3 separate regions of the Homo sapiens genome follow, and regions 1 and 3 are each linked to region 2. Evidence: promoter capture Hi-C in 16 types of primary human blood cells and fetal thymus (Javierre and others, 2016). All regions are on one chromosome and are shown on one strand. Each heading gives the region's core, a stretch centred on a gene start or on the middle of the fragment in contact. The rest is flanking DNA. Distances are from core to core; before and after follow the strand shown. Region 1 overlaps UBTF (upstream binding transcription factor). Region 2 holds the start of ITGA2B (integrin subunit alpha 2b). Region 3 has its middle 18 kb from the start of LINC01180.

Evidence for each region. The method cuts DNA at HindIII sites, captures the fragments that hold promoters and counts their contacts. A CHiCAGO score of 5 or more calls a contact.
Region 1: a fragment that was not itself captured here is called in contact with the fragment with the promoter of ITGA2B in region 2 in 3 of 17 cell types (megakaryocytes, erythroblasts and M1 macrophages); the score reaches 7.0 in megakaryocytes.
Region 3: a contact is called between a fragment that was not itself captured here and the fragment with the promoter of ITGA2B in region 2, in 3 of 17 cell types (endothelial precursors, M2 macrophages and M1 macrophages). The highest score is 6.9, in endothelial precursors.

What each region holds. Positions count from the first base shown.
Region 1 is chr17:44,203,305-44,207,511 of GRCh38, forward strand. UBTF (upstream binding transcription factor) reads right to left here. Exons shown (of 21, transcript NM_014233.4): 20 at 4,150-4,207; 21 at 1,736-4,063. The coding sequence ends at 3,938. The region is part of intron 1 of ATXN7L3-AS1 (ATXN7L3 antisense RNA 1); the gene reads left to right. Among named protein-coding and RNA genes, the nearest start is that of MIR6782, 2.4 kb to the right of the region's middle. RefSeq lists an enhancer at 3,659-4,159. The HindIII fragment of the contact is 1,724 bases long and covers 1,099-2,822 here.
Region 2 is chr17:44,387,948-44,392,199 of GRCh38, forward strand. It overlaps ITGA2B (integrin subunit alpha 2b), which reads right to left and starts at 1,702. Exons shown (of 30, transcript NM_000419.5): 1 at 1,339-1,702. The coding sequence starts at 1,526. RefSeq lists an enhancer at 1,859-1,918. The HindIII fragment of the contact is 14,706 bases long and covers 1-2,149 here.
Region 3 is chr17:44,630,139-44,634,111 of GRCh38, forward strand. No RefSeq gene overlaps it. Among named protein-coding and RNA genes, the nearest start is that of LINC01180, 18 kb to the right of the region's middle. The HindIII fragment of the contact is 850 bases long and covers 2,008-2,857 here.

The sequences.
Region 1 (4,207 bases), core at 711-3,210, 180 kb before region 2:
GGGGGCAGCAGATCCCCAAGGGCCTTGTGGGCCAGACCTATTCACCCACTCAGCAAATCTTTCTTGATTGTCAAATGTATATCAGGCAGTTTCAGGTGCTGAGATTACTGTAATGAACAAGCAGATAAGGTGTCTTCTACTTGGGGAGATAGATAATAAACAAATACATAAACAAGAAGATGGAGGAGGCCTCTCTAGAGCAGGTGGTTGGGAAAGGCTTCTCTGTGAGAGGACATGTGAGTTGAGGCTTAAAGAATGAAAAAAAAAAATCAGGTATGTGTAGAGTTGGAGGAATAGCCATTCTAGGCAGAGAGAACAGGTGCCAAGACCCCGCAGGTAGGCATGTTTGAGGAACAGAAGAGATCACTTGGTTGGATCGTTGTAAGTGGTTAGGAAGAGCAGGGTGAGAGAAGATAAGAGAAGGAATGCGGGGGCCAAGCCTTGTAGGGCCATGGTAAGACATGGTAAATTTTCAGTACAGAAATAATCAGATTTATTTCTGAGATAATTTTGGCTGCCATGTGAAGAATGGGCTGTAGGGGGCGAGAGTGGAAGCAGGAAGACCAGCTTTAGGAGGTCTTTGCAGAAGTTGAGCAATGATGGTGGCCTGAAATAGGATGGGAGTGGCAGCTGTGGGAGCCACCCTGTGGGAGGGGTCGACAGATTTGAGACAGCTTTAGGAAGTGGAATGGAGAGGTCTAGGTGATTGAACCTCGAGGTGAAAGGGAGAGAGGAGTCAAGGCCAATACTCTGCTTTCTAGGTTGAACGACTAAGTGTTTGGTAATCATTTCGGGTCTTGAGGTATGAGATGTCTGCAAGATATCCCAGGGGATGCAAGGGTGTCTACACAGGTCTGCAGCTTGGAAGAGCAGTCTCTGTCGGCACCACCTTTCGGAATGGTTGCATATGCGTGATAATGGGAGGTTGAAGGGAGAGACATGAACACCTGGGATAAAATGAGGAAGAGCTGACACCAACAGAGTAGACCAAGAAGGCAAAAGACAAGACAAGTGTTCACCAGATGTAATGAACATGTTGGTGACCTTAGCAAGGAACCTCAAAGGATGGTGGTAAGTGGGAGGCCAAGAGGCACAACAAGCTTTTTAGCAGTTTGGCCACTATAGGATAGGGGCAAGGGCTGGGAGAGAGTTCTCCGACAGGACCTGGGTCTGCAGCCCTTTGAGGTTCCAGGAACCCAGCCAAGGCCTGCGCAGGAAAGGGTGTCTTCCCTTAATCTCAGAGAGTGAGTCATCTCAGCCCAGCCCAGCCTGCTTCCCATCAGAGGCCTAGATGGTCCTAGGAAAGTCATCCTTAACCCTTAACCTTTAACCTGGGATGGAGCTGAAGGCTCAAAGTGAGAGCGTGCTCCCTCAACTCCCCACGATAAGCCCTACACTAGGAAGGCTTGCATGCCCAGGGCGAACCCTTGACCCTAGTAGCTCATCACCTCCAATTCCCCAAGACCATGTACTTTGGGTGAAAATGCATTTGTTCTCCAACTTCTCAGAATCTTTAGTGGTCTCACAACCCAAGGTGAACAAATGGAATTGAGAAAAGGGCAAGAACAGTAGCACAGAACAATGTGAAGGTAGGTTGCCTATGGAATCTTTAGGGAAGAGGAAGATAGTTCTAGGAAGAAAAGGCAAATTGGCTTCAAGCATTTTTATAGATCAAACCTGTTGGGTCACCCCTGTGAACCTTCATTGATTCCAGTGACCAGACAGCAGTCAAACCTTTGTTTTTCACTTTATTATACAAAAAAGGGAAAACAAAACTTCCACAGTTGGCTTTAAGCATAGGCAGACACCTCTAAGCCACTCCCTCCCACCTCCCATGATACAAATTCAAGTTGTGGTGGTTGTTGAATCCTACAAAACACTCCTTAAATATTAGAAAAGAAGTTGGGGGTGGGGATGGGGGTCTTCCCACCCCAGCCATCCCATCCCAGTGCCAAAATGCACTCAAGAGTGACCTCTTACAGCACCAACACCCCCACCCTGACAGTCCTGTTTGTACTGTAAGAATTTTTCAATTTTTAAAACAGGAAAGAAAAAGTGCCCCATTCAAAGTTGTTTTTAAATGAAAATACATTCCACTGAAACACAACAGTGTAGGGGCATCCAAATAGGAAACTGGGGTTCTTTGCAGGGCTCTTGGGAAGAAATAGAACCTATAAACCCCTGTACTTAATTCCAGGATTAGGACAAAGGAAGGGGAATGGGAGTGGGGAGTGTCCCCCCCAGGCCTCCCCACCCCCAGCACCAAGGTCCAAGGCAAAGCAGAGACTGTCTGCCTTCCTTTGGGAGAGGGACCCACCAGCCTCTCTGGGACCAGGGCCCTTCACCGTTCTTGCTCCACCTCCGCGGCAGAGTTCCCGCTCTTCCCCCATTCCTTGGCTTTCATTCAGAGGGGGAAGGTGGAAAAGCACCAAGCCCCAATTTAATAGGTCAGTGACATGACCATAAAAAAGAACCCCCCAAATTTAGTCAACAAAAAAATAAGAACTACAGAGATAAGGTGGCTTGGCTTATTAAGAGTCAAGGAATCAAGGTACCAAAAAATACGGGAGATGGCTGGGAAGAGTTAGAGACAGCTGCAGATGCAGCTTTTGCAGACTTCTTGCCCAGCTGTGGGGTTGGGGGAGGAGGGAGCAGACCTGAGAAATTAAAGGAAATAGGGGGTGGTGGGAGGATTCAAGGAAGGCTGGAGGGATGTGTAAGTTAGGAGCTCCCAGCACATTTCTTGAAGCCCAGGTTCTGAGCCTGGGGTGGCCAGGCTTGGCCTCTCAGATGAACAGGGGAGACCTTTTCCATCAAATACAAGCTTTAAGCTTCACACCATCTTGCCTGCCTTTCCGCCTTCCTGCTGGACAATGGAGACCAGCAGCTCGGATGCATGTGACTCTGGCAGAGGGAGCCTGGTCTGGGAAGCATCCGAGAATGGCTTCAGCACACTCCCCCTAATGGAATCAGAGACTGGGCAAAACAGAGGATGTGGAGAACGGGGCAGCCTCAGCCTGCTCCCACCAGGGTCAACATCTCCCGGCCCTCACCGACCCTTTTTCCAGATTCACAACAAACTGATGTGGGCTCTAGGACAGACCCCTTTACACACACACACACACACTCACACTCTTTTGCACACATCCACAGCTGCACCCATGCTATGTACAGGAACACACATACACATACTCTCTTCCACATACATCAAGACCATTTTTAAAAGGTTCCAAATCTACCCCTAAACCCTCCCTCTCCCAGAAATGACAACAGAGACGGCAGCCGAGATCGGTAGGAAACGTCTCGTTGACAGCTCAGAGCTTAAAAAAAAATATATACACATATATAAAAAACACTTCTGCCCCCTCCCCCATGAACGGGTCCAGGCAGCTCCTTCCTGCAGGGGGCAGGGGAGAGGGCCACCAGGGCAGTGCCTGTTTTCTTGAAGGCACCGACCCTCCTCCTCCCCATGTTCCCTGCCTCCAGTTCCAATGCAGGGGTCCAGGTGGCAGGCCCCTCTGGGAAGGAATGGGTCTTCCCCAAGCTTCCACCCCACCTTGGATTGGGCCGCAGGTGTGGAGGGCCTCATCAAACTCTTTGGGACCCCCCACCCCCACTCTCCGGTCCATTGTCCATGCCGGAACCGCAAGTGCAGAAGTGGGTGGGGTGGGCCAGGCTGGTCCGGTGCTGGCTTAGTCTGATAGTTGCTGTCCCTGGAGGAGGACCCCCAAGGGCTGATGTCTCTGAGGCTGCAGAGTCCTGGCCTGGGCTCCTCCAGCCCCCTACCCCCACCGTATTTTTTTTTTTTTTTAAAGAAAGAAAGAAAGTGGGGGAGGCCAGGGGGGCAAGGGACAGAACATGGGGGAGAAACAAAGGTGGTCAGTTGGGGAGGGGAGCTCCTGGGCTCTCCCTGGCTGCCCTGGGGTGGGGCTGAGCCTCAGTTGGAGTCAGAGTCTGAGGAGTCCCCTGAGGAGGAGGAGCTGGAGCTGCTGCCCTCGGACTCATTATCTTCATCCTCATCGTCATCCTCGTCGTCGTCTTCGTCCTCGTCATCCTCTTCATTCTGGGGGGTGAGAAAGGATGTGGAGTCACCAGGTGGCCCTCCTGGCAGGACTCCCCTCCCCTCCCACTGTGCCCTGTCTGCCCCACCTCATCCCCATCCTCGCTCTCGTCCTCGCTGCTGGACTCAGAGGAGTCGCCGCCATCT
Region 2 (4,252 bases), core at 452-2,951:
CACCCACTTCTCATTGATCAGACACTGGATGTGGGCCATCTTGGGAGGGGACTTGGAGTGAACTGGCTCTCTTCAGCAGAGGAAATCCCCTAAGTGGCTGACACTTGAAGGCTATCTGCCATTGCCACCCATTGCCACTCCCTGAAGCTGGTGGGCACAGTGTCTCTCACAATAGTAGCTCAGGGTACACGCTATGAAGAGGAGGAGCCAAGACTCTAATCTTGGCACTCTTGATTCTGAAGCCTGATCAATACTAATCATTAATGACCTATTGCTTCTTTTCAAATATTTATAATGTTGATGGAGATGAGGGAAATGGAACAGAAATGCAAGGTGCGGGAGGGTAGACAACTTTAGTTCTGCAAATCAATTTAGGACATGTGCTCCTCTCCACATTTCCTTTCTTTTTTTTTTTTTTTTTTTTTTGAGACAGAGTTTCGCTCTCGTTGCCCAGGCTGGAGTGCAATGGCATGATCTCGGCTCACCACAACCTCTGCCTCTCAGGTTCAAACGATTCTCCTGCCTCAGCCTCCCGAGTAGCTGGGATTACAAGCATGCGGCACCACGCCCGGCTAATTTTTTTTTTTTTGAGACGGAGTGTCACTCTGTCACCCAGGCTGGAGTGCAGTGGCATGATCTCAGCTCACTGCAACCTCCACCTCCCGGGTTCAAGTGATTCTCCTACCTCAGCCTCCCGAGTAGCTGGGACTACAGGAGTGTGCCACCACGCTCAGCTAATTTTTGTATTTTTAATAGAGACAGGGTTTCACCATATTGGCCAGGCTGGTCTTGAACTCCTGACCTCATGATCTGCCCACCTCTGCCTCCCAAAGTGCTGGGATTGCAGGTGTGAGCCACTGTGCCTGGTCTCTTTTTTTTTTTTTTTTTTGTATTTTTAGTAGAGACGGGGTTTCTCCATGTTGGTCAGGCTGGTCTCGAATTCTCGACCTCAGGTGATCTGCCCGCCTCGGCCTCCCAAAGTGCTGGGATTACAGGCATGAGCCACCGCGCCCGGCCTCCTCTCTGCATTTCAAGGTGTTGAGGGTGGAGTGGTTCATACAACTGACCCTTGGGGAAAAAATAAAGCATCAACTCTTGTCTTCCCTTTGTTCTTGCTGTAGTTTTCAGTGCCCATCAGCCCACATGTGCCCTGCCCTTATACCTTCACCTGAGCCAGTCCCCTGGACCCCAACATTCTTGACAAGAAATCAACCTGAATAGGCCCCACAAGTCACCTTGCTCAACTGCTATCGCAAATGGGAAACTCGAAGCCCCCAGAAGCAGTGATGGGGAGGGGTCCTGCTCTCTCCCAATACCCCAACTTCCCTTACGGCTCACCTCCCATGGCTGTCCTTGTGGAAGTCCAGTGAAAATCCAAACTGGCTGCCATTGGGGCCTGCATAGAAGGTGAGCTGCACTGGGTCCAGGTTCAAGGCCCAGGCTGGAGGGGCAGCACAAGGTCCCAAGAGCAGCAGCACCCACTCCAGAAGCCAGAGGGCTTGCAGTGGACACAAAGCTCTGGCCATCTTCCTTCTTCCACAACCTCCCAGGCAGGAATGGGCCAGCTCCTCCTCCTTCCCTTCAGATTCCTCCACAGGAAGTCTTTTCTTATCAAACTGGAACCCCAAGTAACTTGCTGAGCAACGGGCAGAGCAAAGGGCTATAGCCCCTGGACTCATGGTGGCTAGAATTGCCAGGAAGTGGGTGAGGCCACCCAGAGGGTGGATGCTCATGGCTGAAAGCCATGACTCCTCCCCTTTCCTGAGAATAGTTTATTACCATGTCCTATTGGTTCTGCCTATCAATGATGTCTCTTGAATCTTTACCCCATCTCTACTACCACCGTGCTAGTCCAAGCCACCATCACTTTCTGCTTGGGATAGCGTGATTGTGAACTGGTCCATACTTGTCTACTCTAGCCTACAGTTCTAATCTCCTCCCTTCCCCCATCTGGCTGTACAGCTGTGGTGCTTTGTGACTTGGCCACAGGTCGGGGAAGGAGAAGGAAGCTGCTGCCCCCGATAAAACCTGAGGCTTCTGTATCTTTTTGGATATGGCATTTACCCACTTCCTCCTTCTAGGACCTTGGGCGGCCTCAACCAGCCATATTGGTGCAGCAGCTTCCTCACTCCTCCTCCGTCTTGAGCCAAGCTTTAGTGTGGCCACAGCAGTGCAGTCAGTGCTGGGGACAGGGTGGTGAATGGACCTTGGTCTAGGTGGCAAGGAGATTGGGGATAAAGTGGAGTTATTCCAGGGAATTTTGACTCACAGTTTCTGAGATTATGCATTAGCTGTTCAGTTGAAGGTAGGCCCTCAATCCTTTTTGGGTGATGGAGCTCTTTAACCATTAAGACTTGATTCTGGTTGGGGGCTTTGCCTAGGGGAGCCTTCCCTGACTCCTCAGGCTGGCCGCGTGGGCTAACACACGTAGGCACAGCATTGAGCACACTGTTTACTCTTGGTCCGTTCACAGGATTGTGTAAATGAGTCCCTTGGGAGCAAGGCTCCTTGCTACAGCCCTAGAGACTACCCAAGAGTCCAATGTGTAGTACGTGTATTGCTGAAAGACTGGATGGAAACACACACTAAGGATGGAAGATGCAAACATAGGGTGACAAAGTGAAGGGATGAGTTTTGAGCAGAAAGGCAAAGTCATTTTCTCTCGGTAAGCGGAAGAGGAGGAGTGCCAAGTCTTACTGGCACTCATGCCTTCCCAAAAAAGCAGGTTCTCAGGAAGATTTAAGAGGTCCGCTAGGGGTAACCATAGCCACATTTTCCTTTTGATTTCTATTTTCTGATCAAACTTAACCATTGCCGTATCCTGCTCAACCACCCTGTACCATTTTGAAGTCCCCTCGTAATTTACTACCTCAGCCTAGAGTTAAGAATCTTATCCTTTATAGGACAGGAAGCTAAAAGCCTGAACTTTGGTCTGGGCCTTCTTCATTGCTGAGTTCCCAGTGTCAAGTACATGGGAGGCGTGTAATTAATGTATTTGCTTGAACGAATACTTAACCCAGTCCTCTACTTACCTTCTATCCTCCCACTGTCCTCAGGTGAGTGATTGCTGTATTACTGGTGTATTCTGTGAGGCCAAATATGAACTTACATTTCACTCAAGTTTTCAATAAGTATTTACTCTGTTCAAGGCACTGTGTTGATAAAGGATACAAAGATAACCATTAGGCCAGGTATAGTGGCTCATGCCTGTAATCCCAGCACTTTGGGAGGCTGAGGCAGGAGGATGGCTTGAGCTCAGGCATTTAAGACCAGCCTAGGCAATACAGTGAGACCTCGTCTCTATTTTAAAATTATAAAAAATAAAATATTTTAAAAACTCCAAAGATAGCCATCAAGGAGACTTAACAAACAGCCCAGAAAGAGTTAAGACATGAACACACATAACTGCAGCAGAGAGACAGTCAAGCATGCCTTGAAAAATACACAGATTATCAAAGTCGTATATCATTGTTACTCATAACAACCCTAGGAAATAAGTACTATTATGCCCATTTTATAAACACAAAACTGTGGCACAAGAGTTTTAGGTAAATTGCCCATGTTTACGCAGCCAACAGATGGCAAAACTAAGATTCAAACATGGGTTGCACTTGAACTCATGTTCAAGTTGCCTTTTGTCAGAGAATGAAAGGGTTTTTAGGCATAGAGAATACATGAGAGCAGCAAAGGAACACAGAGGTAGGGAAGGACAAGTAGTTGACTCAGCATAGCAGAATGCTTAAAGGGTTGGACTGAGGCGCAAGGGGGTAAAGCTTGGGGATTCAAATTACTGGAGGTCCTTGAATGCCATATTAAGGAATCTGAACTTTAATCCATGGGGGATGGAAAATCATAAAGATTTTAGCCGGGCATGGTGGCTCATGCCTGTAATCCCAGCACTTTGGGAGGCCCAGGCGAGTGGACCACAAGGTCAGGAGTTTGAGACCAGCCTGGCCAACCTAGTGAAACCCCGTCTCTACTAAAAATACAAAAATTAGCTGGGCGTGGTGGTGTGTGTCTGTAATCCCAGCTACTTGGGAGGCTGAGGCAAAAGAATTGCTTGAACCTGTGAGGCGGAGGTGGCAGTGAGCTAAGATCATGCCACTGCACTCCAGCCTGGGCGACAGAGTGAGACTCCATCAAAAAAGAAAAAAAGAAAGAAAGAAAAGAAAAATAAAATTATAAAGATTTTTTACACCAGGTTTGGTGGCTCATGCCTGTAACCCTAGCACTTTGGGAGGCCAAGATGAGG
Region 3 (3,973 bases), core at 1,183-3,682, 240 kb after region 2:
GTCCCAGTGCTCCATATCCCCACCACTACCCCACTCCCAAACATACTCATATGTAGCACCAGGGGCTGGGTTCCTGCATGCAAGTCATCTAAAAGTGACGCTATTGACTGAATGACTGTGACCTAGGAGGCTGGGCTGATAAGGATCACCTAACAAAAACCAGTTACTGATGTTAGTGCTTACACTAACATCCCCTTGAAGGAAAAGTCTTAAAGCCATTTTATAAATTGTCAACCTATTTGCCCTAATGTGGTCATTTTCATCACTTATTACCCTCCTCAAAGTCTTTATTATGCAGCTAAATTACAATAATGGTTTAATAGTTTTTGGCAAACTGGAACCATGATGTCACAAAAGCCATACAAGTAGGTAGTAAAGATGTTATAAATTCCTCCCCCTTTTTTAAAGCAGATAAGAAAAAAAAATTTTTTTTGAGACAGGGTCTTGTTATGTTGCCCAGGCTGGAGTGCAGTGGTGCGATCTCAGCTCACTGCAACCTCTGCCCCCCAGGCTCAAGCCATCCTCCCACCTCAGCCTCCTGAGTGAGTAGCTGGGACTGCAGGTGCACACCACCACACCCCGTTAATTTTTGTATTTTTTGTAAAGAAGGGGGCTCGCCATGTTGCCTAGGCTGGTCTCAAACTCCTGAGCTCAAGCAATCTGACCACTTCATCCCCACAAAGTGCTGAATTACAAGCGTGAGCCACCACGCCCTACAAGGGCCAAATGTCCAGTGGCAAGGCCATAAGAGCTGCTAAGTGACATTGCTTCATCATGAACTCATGCCCTCTAATTCCACATCCAGGGCCTCTGTCCTCTGAGAACACACATCCAGGACCATACCATCCCAGAGGTGACCTGTCTTTGCAGCTGTGAAGGGGAGCTAGAGCTGGGTGTGCCCAACTGATTAGGATTTGCTGAAACAATCCAACCCTTCTTCCATACTTAAAATCCCATCTGGTCTTCGTCCCATATATTTTCCTTTCCGTTTTAAAATGTGAGTCTCTTCTGAGGGAAAGCCAATCCATGTGTTTCTGATTCATTTAAACTTAATTTCTCCAAATAGCACTCTCTAACATCCCTGAATTTCATACATTTTTAGAAGACAGGAAATAGGAAGAGGCCAAGTATGGGCAGATTGGGAAGAGATGGAGCTCCCAGGCACTCACTGGGATTCTCTTCCTTAGGAAAATAATGTCTCCCATCCTTACAGTGGAGGCTGAGCCTGGATTCAATTCCATATTCTTGCTCCAGCTCTAGCTAAGGTGACAGTTATAACACGTGGGCCAGACAGTATGGGACTCCATCCGGCACACTTTTTTTTTTTTTTTTTTTTTTTTTTGGTGACGGGGTCTCCTCTGTTGCCTAGGCCAGACTGCAGTGGGGCAATCCCAGCTCACTGCAGCCTCGACTTCCCTGGCTCAAGTAACTGGGCTTAAGTGATCCTCCCACCTCAGCCTCTCGAGTAGCTAGGACCACAGATGCATGCCTAACGCCCAGCTAATTTTTTGTTATTTTTTGTAGAGACAGGGTCTCCCTATGTTGCCCAAGCTGGTCTTGAACTCCTGGACTCAAGGGATGCTCCCTACGTGGCCTCTCAAAGTGCTGGGATTACAGGCATGAGCCACCGTGCCAGCCCAACGTGGTTTACTATCTAGAACATAGTAAAGCGAGGAATTAACTTGATCCTTGATAGCTTGGCCAGGGCAGGAAGTAAGGTCACCTGTGAGAGAAGCAATGATTCTGTGGTGCTTCTTGAGTATCTCCATCATATACCTCAGCAGGAGGGCTTGGATGCTCCCTCTAGGCAAACATGACTATGACAATGAAGTAAAAACAAACCTGGATAACATGATGGGTGGGCTTTGATGGAGAAAGTATATGGAGGCAATATAGCATGTTAGAAAGTGCTGTGTAGTCAGACAAAACTGGGTTCAAAGCTTGGCTCTGACAATTAAGCCCAGGGACTTTAGGCAAGTCACTTAACCTCTGTGAATATCATCAGTAAGCTTCCGCTGCATGAGATTGTTATAAGAATTAAATAAAACCATTTGTAGGGTATGACAATTAATAGGCACTTAAATAAATGGCAACCAGTAGTGTCATATTATCTGAAAGTAAGATACAGTGTGTTGAAATTTCTTAATTCAACTCCCACTTAAATCATGCCCCAGACAGTCTCCTGACACGCTGATGAGGGTCTAATATGGAAATTTTGAAAGAAATCAATCAACAATAATTTGATGGGCATGTGATGGTACAAAGCCAGTGCCAGATGCTATGGATGGGTGGGCAGGGGAAAAGAAAAAAAAGTAGAGGGTTTGCAAGATTGTTCAAGGCTAGACACAGTGTCTCACACCTGTAATCCCAGCACTTTGGGAGGCTGAGGCAGAAGGATTGCTTGAGTCCAGGAGTTTGAGACCAGCCTGGGCAACATAGTGAGACCTCATCTCTACTAAAAATAAAAATAAAAAATTAGCTAGGCATGGTGGCATGCACCTGTAGTCCCAGCTGCTTGGGAGGTTAAGGCAGGAGGATTGATTGAGCCCGGGAGGTGGAGGCTGCAGTGAGCCTCGATTGCACCATTGCACTCCAGCCTGGGTGACAGAGAGATACCCTGTCTCAAAAACAAACAAAAAACATTAACAACAACAAAAACAAGGTTGTTCAAGAGACAACAGAAGTCATAGACACTTGAGAAGAATCACAAAGCAATTTAGCAGCAAATTTTCAGAATCCAAATTGAGTCTTGGGCTACTGGGGATGTAGAATCATGCTTGGAGGATGCAGACACCCTGCCGGAGGACGATCTAAATCTGGAAAACCTGTATGATTCTGAACTGGGACTTGATTTTTAAGCTTCCTTAATACCTGGTAAACCTGAAGCTTGGGATTTTATAACAAGTTTATTTTTTATGTGTTAAAAATGTGTGGAGAGGGTGAAATGGGAAAAACTGCCTAATGAATATAGAGTTTTGTTTTGGGGCGATGAAATGTTTTGGAACTAGATGGAGGTGATGGTTACATGACATTGTGAATGTGCTAAATATCACTGAATTGTTCACTTTAAAATGGTTAACTTTATGCTACAATTTCACCTCAATTTAAAAATTCATAGAAATTTAGAAATAGGCCAGGTGTGGTGGCTCACACCTGTAATCCCATCACTTTGGGAGGCTGAGGTGGGCGGATCACATGAGGCCAAGAATTTGAGACCAGCCTGGCCAACATGGCGAAACCCTGTCTCTACTAAAAATATAGAAATTAGTTGGGTGTGGTGGCGCATGCCTGTAGTCCCAGCTACTTTGAAGGCTGAGACAGGAGAATAGCTTGAACCCAGGAGGCACAGGTTGCAGTGAGCTGAGATGGCGCCACTACACTCCTGCCTAGGCGACAGAAAGAGACTTGGTCTCAAAAAAAAAGAAGTAAAAATAAAATTTTAAAAAAGCTATTTGGCTTGGCACAGTGGCTTACGCCTGTAATCCCAGCCCTTTGGGAGGCCAAAGTGGGCAGATCACTTGAGGTCAGGAGTTCGAGACCAGCCTGGCCAACATGGCGAAACACTGTCTCTACCAAAAAATAGAAAAGTTAGCTGGGCGTGGTGACGTGCGTCTGTAATCCCCGTTACTCGGGAGGCTGAGGCAGAAGAATCGCTTGAACCTGGGAGATGGAGGTTGCGGTGAGCCGAAATCACGCCACTGCACTCCAGCTTGGGTGACAGAGTGAGAGCCTGTCTCAAACAAACAAACAATTTTTAAAGGAGTACCCCTACCAGATATTAGAAATTTTTTTAACCTATGCAAATTAAAGCAATATGAGATTGGTACAGAAATAGGAAAGGAAAGAATGGAGTCCAGAGGCAGATTTAAATATATATGGGGATTTTTTTGTTTGTTTCTTTTTATTTTTTTTTTATATGGGGATTTAGTATATGCTAACGAAGACCGTTAAAATCAGCAGGGAGGCCAGGCAT